Linked DNA regions of Homo sapiens: region 1 is linked to region 2. Evidence: promoter capture Hi-C in 16 types of primary human blood cells and fetal thymus (Javierre and others, 2016). All regions are on one chromosome and are shown on one strand. Each heading gives the region's core, a stretch centred on a gene start or on the middle of the fragment in contact. The rest is flanking DNA. Distances are from core to core; before and after follow the strand shown.

The links. The method cuts DNA at HindIII sites, captures the fragments that hold promoters and counts their contacts. A CHiCAGO score of 5 or more calls a contact.
Region 1: a contact is called between a fragment that was not itself captured here and the fragment with the promoter of VAT1L in region 2, in 3 of 17 cell types (M0 macrophages, M2 macrophages and endothelial precursors). The highest score is 6.6, in M0 macrophages.

What each region holds. Positions count from the first base shown.
Region 1 is chr16:78,001,050-78,003,749 of GRCh38, forward strand. No RefSeq gene overlaps it. Among named protein-coding and RNA genes, the nearest start is that of CLEC3A, 20 kb to the right of the region's middle. RefSeq lists a silencer at 1,982-2,181. The HindIII fragment of the contact is 778 bases long and covers 1,058-1,835 here.
Region 2 is chr16:77,787,183-77,789,882 of GRCh38, forward strand. VAT1L (vesicle amine transport 1 like) reads left to right here and starts at 1,382. Exons shown (of 9, transcript NM_020927.3): 1 at 1,382-1,733. The coding sequence starts at 1,501. The region is part of intron 1 of LOC107984878 (a long non-coding RNA gene); the gene reads right to left. The HindIII fragment of the contact is 9,864 bases long and covers 1-2,700 here.

The sequences.
Region 1 (2,700 bases), core at 197-2,696, 210 kb after region 2:
TGATATTGTTCATGGTAATAGTACTGCTAATGGTACCAAATATTTTCTTTTAATGACAGACCTTCTTAGAGCCTTTCCTCACTAGTAGCTGCCCTGTGACCTTCCGAGATGAGTTCTAATACTCAGTTCCCATGGAGGCTTTTATCAGAATTCTGGGGAACACACTCTGGGGAACCCTGACCTAGGATCATCTAGTCCAGTGGAGGTTTTTCTCATGTTCTTTGCATTTTGTAGAACAGCAAAATGGGAGGAGCTTAAACCACCTTGCAATATTGTCAAGAGAATAAAACAAGAAATCGTATAGAATGAGCAAAGCTGCCAATTCTCCCTTAGGAAGAATAGCAAATATTTACCATGATTCTTCATGGCCAAGTCACAGAAAAAGTTGAATGGCCACTATATTATAGCGATTAAGGACATGGCTCTATAGTCAAACTACAAGGATTTTATAAATCCTGGCCTTACTGCTGATTTACGATCTGTAGGTCCTCGGGCAGGCTTGTCATAACCTCACGTAACCACACCACTTTCCTTATAAATAGAGTGAGGATAACAGCCATCAGTCTGTTGGGCTATCAAGAGAATTAAGATCATATACATAAAGCATTTAGCTTAGTGTTTGGCTCATAGAGCTCACATACCATCAACTCATTAGCATAGCTGGACAATTTTAACCTCAGTAAGAAAAGGAAGTCTCAAAAGATTACAGTGACAAGTACATATTTCAAAAACTTTAAACTTCACTATAAAGTAAAAACAAAAGTTGTAAGAAATCCTTGAACTTGGACTCTGGACTGTTTCCCAATAACACATGCTAATGTGATAGCTAAGTCACTGAGCCTGCAGTGCAAATCCTGTTGCACCTCCTTAAAAAATCCTGAAACAAGTACAGGAGCCCTGCCCTTCACCTTCAGGAGTAGAGAATTTGATGTCATAGTGCTACAGGTCCACATTGACATTTGATTTCTCCAGGAGGGGAAAAAAAAACGTATTTGGTCATAAAGAAGCCATGAGTTATTTGTTAGATGAGGGTGGGCACCCTATTTTGCTTTTATGAAGCTTTCCTGGGAGAAAAAACTCTGCTACATTTTTAGTACCTAAATAGGGGATGCATCAGGATTGGAGGCAGTTAAAATAGCAATTACCAACAGCAGCTCTCTCCGGTCTACAATATCATAGAGGATTTCTATTTCCTACATTATTTGCTTTTATAATCTATGGATTTGTAGAATGTACATGCATCATTGTGCACGTAATCCAGAAAACAAAAAACATATGTGTATGTACATATGCACGTGTATGCACGTGTGTGTGTGTGTGTGTGTGTGTGTGTGTGTGTGTGTGTGTGTGAAGCTGGAGGTAGCTGGAGCATCTCTGGACCTCCAAGAGGGCTGATGAGAGCCCCAGAAAGGCTCCCCAGAAAGCCTAAGGGAGTGTTTCTCAAACTTCAGTTGTACCTCAGAATCCTAGGAGACTTGTGAAAAGCCAACACAATTGCAGACTAAAGCCCTCCCAGAGATTCTGATCTACGGAGACTGCCATTGCCTAGGAATCTGCATTTTTATGTACAGCAGCCCCAGGCGATTCTGCTGCATTTTGAAAAGTGCTGGTTAGGACCCGGGCCTCTCCTGTGATGGAAATGATCTGAGACTGCACAGCCCAGTGTCATCTCACCATGACAGGGGAGGCCCTGTTCTATACCTGGGTCTGTAGGTCAGGAGTGTGGGATGGCTCATGGGAAGGGGAGAAAGAGCTTGCAACTAAGATGTTCCAATATATTTTTAAAAATTAGATGCTAAATTTATAAAAATATACAGATCTACAGTTGCATGAAAAGCTTTTTCTCAATCCTATCTGTGAATTTCTATGGCAATGGAAATAAATTCATTTGAGGATAAAGGGGAAAGTCTAAGTGTCAGACCTTTTGTGAAAGAGACCTCACCTTCTGCCTCCCTCCCTTCCCCCTCTTCCGCCGCCATGACAAGCCCCAGCCTAAAAGGACATTCAAGGCTCCTCCCAGAAGGCTCCCAGCCAGCCAGCAACCGGGTACCAAGCTTGGACTTGGCGTCAGCCTCCTGCCACCTAGTGGTCAGTCCGGGACACACAGCTAATTTATCTTAATTTCCACTCCACTCTCATTGGTTGATCCAGCGGACATTTGTCTAGCTCCTGTAATGTTGCCAGGCAATTTGCTGGGCTATGGAGGTAACAACGACTTCGTCTTATAGCGCTGAAAGGAATGTGCTGGCATTAGTTAAATCATTCCCAATGGTGAAACTGAGGCCTGGAGGCAGGGAGTATGGCTTACACAGGGTTCTGCATCAACTCTGATAACTCGCTTAAAATATCCTTTTCTCAGCCAGGCGCAGTGGGTCACTCCTGTAATCCCAGCCCTTTGGGAGCCCAAAGCAGGGGAGGACTGCTTGAGGCCAGGAGTTCAAGGCCAGCCTGGCCAACATGGTGTAACCCCCTCTCTACTACAAATGCAAAAATTAGCCAGGCGTGGTGGTGCATGCCTGTAATCTCAGCTACTCGGGAGGCTGAGGCACGAGACTCACTTGACCCTGGGATGCAGAGGTTCCAGTGAGCTGAGATCACTCCACTGCACTCCAGCCTGGACGACTGAGCGAAACTGAGCAGGGGATAAGCTAAGCCCAGACTCTTGACCTGTAGAAACTCATCATGAATATGATCATATCA
Region 2 (2,700 bases), core at 132-2,631:
CTACAAAGGGACATAAGTGTCTATAGTCAGGGAGGACACCAATCTGGAGGTTGGAGTGCCTCCCAACAGGAATGGACCCTTGAGGTGAGAACGAAGTAGGAGTTAACACCAGATAAAGGAGATGGAACACATACCCCAGGCCAAGGGGACAGCAGGTGCAGAACCCTGTGGAAGGAGGGAAAATGGCAATCGTCTTTTTTTTTTTTTTTTTTTTTTTTAAGGAATAGAAGACAAGGGCATTTAAAGCAGTGAGGCACAGGAAGAATGAGGGGAGAGAAGAGGCAGCACTTACATCATTCATTGTACCACATTTGTTGACTGTGTCCTTCATGCCTCATGCTCTGAAATTGACCTTTTCCAATATAAGGACCATGTCTCACTGAAATCATGTCCACCCCAGCACTTCACACAATATAGAAAAAAAAATCAATGTACCCAATTTATAGATGAGTGTGTTGAGGCTCAGGAAGGTTGAATGAGTTGCCCAAGATCTCAAGGCTGGCAATGGCATAGCAACTATAATAGAATATAGACCTACTTCCTCACCTGCATCTCTTTCCTTAAACTGCCCCTAGGAAAACCACGTCCTTCCCCATTATTTTATTTCAGAAATTCCAAGTTTTTCTATGAGCTGTTTTTCTCAAAGAGCCTGATAACAAAACAAAACGCCAGTTACTACTCTGTGTATGTGCATGCATGTTGGGGAGCGGGTACACACTGGTCTTCCGGGGATCAGAACACGAACAGGATCCTTTCTGGTACAGGATTCTTGTCTGAAGCCTCTTTAATAGCCCGAAATGGTGTGGGTGGTGAGAATTCGCCGTCGTAAGGAAGCCCCTGGTGATACCCAGCAAAGAGCATCCCGGCTGACCCTGCAGGTCTGGAGTGAAAAGACCCTGCACTGGACTCTTCAGGGCAGTGAGCGGGATCTCTAGTTCCCTGCTTCCCAAACCTCTCCGCCCTTCCACCCAAAACTGGCTGTTTGAGAAACGACCCAATTTCCCGACTATCCCGCCCAGCCTCGAAGATGGGAGGGAGAGAGGGCAACCTTGTCGCGGTAAGGCATCCTCCAGGCCCAGACATTAGTCTCGGTCCATTTCAAGGCACCCGAGCCTGTGCCGTATATAACCAAGTACTGGGCCCACAGGAAGGGGGATGACAGGGTGGTCTCTCTAGGCTCGTTTTAGTCACAGATCTTCGGCAAATTTGGGTTTAGGGCCGCGATCCCGACCCTAACTTGGGACTATTTCAGGAACTGGAGTTGAGGCTTCGTTGGGACAGGAAAGAAGGGTGGGGCGGGGGTGAAGCGCTTAGGGCACGGCTCTTGTGAGGATTACGGCGGAGGCTGTGGACCGCGGCGGCGCTCGCAGAGGCTGCAGCCATTGCACAGCCGAGCATCCCACATTCAACAGGAGGAACCCGCGGGAGAGGAGCCCCACTCCCCCAGCGCCGCAGCCACCGCAGCCACCGCAGCCCGTGCGCCCCGCGCCCTCGAGCGCCATGGCCAAGGAAGGCGTGGAGAAGGCGGAGGAGACGGAGCAAATGATCGAGAAGGAGGCAGGCAAGGAGCCGGCGGAGGGCGGCGGCGGCGACGGCTCGCACCGCCTCGGGGACGCCCAGGAGATGCGCGCGGTGGTGCTGGCTGGCTTCGGGGGGCTCAACAAGCTGCGGCTCTTCAGGAAGGCCATGCCCGAGCCTCAGGACGGCGAGCTCAAGATCCGCGTCAAAGCCTGGTCCAGTATCCGCGCCTTTCTCGCTTTCTCTCTTTTTGCGCGCTGGGCGCTGGGGAGGGGGTGGGAAAGCTGCGGCTGGGATGCTGCCCGGGTAGAACCGCCGCGCGCACCCCCTCCGCGCCCTCACCCGGGTCTCAGAGCCTCCCCGGGCCAAAGCTGGGGAGGATGCAGAGGGGCGGCCTCCCCAAGCCAGATCTAGGGGTGACGGGAGGAGAATGTGAGCTCCTGGGCGCGGGGAGAATGCTGGCGCCCAGGCACCCCGGGTCTGGAAGATTGCGCTACGGGAGTTCTCCGTCTGAGAGGACAACTCAGCTTTCGCACGGGAGGGTTGATGCTTAACAGAATTAAAAATATATGTATTAAGAACCGCAAGCCCACTGTGTGCCAGCCGCCGTTGGTAGTTTTACACGTGCGATCTTATTTAATACTTCCTGGGACCTAATGAGTCAGGTGCCATCATGATCCGTTTACAGGTAAGAAAGCCGCCGCTCAGCGAGAATGAGTGATTTGCCCAAGATCAGTCAGCTGCCACTAAGTGGCTTGGCCGGGAATTTGATACATGATCTTTTTTCACCTCTATGCTGTTGTCCTGAAGGGCCTGGGACAGGGTGCAGGGCTGGATCCCGCCTCCTGCCCACTTCCTTCCCCGTAGCCTGACGGGGAAAGGAACTAGGAAGGAAGAGGGTCGGTACCTTGCACCCAGGCTTGGTGAGGGTGGAGACCAGGGCTGCAGCGCAACCCCCTCCATGCCCCTCTCCATCCTCTGTTTCTCCGAGAGGGGAAAAAACCCTGATCAGTCTCCCCGGAATTCCTGGTCCCATCTCAGAAGGAGCTCAGCTCTCTAAGCTGCCCTCTATTCCCCATTCCCCCTGGGGGAACTTCTCCAGGCCCTCACGCTCAGCTGAAATTCCCGGGGAGAGTTTAAGCCTCTCTGTGTGCGGGCACTGTAATTTCCCTGAAGTTCTGG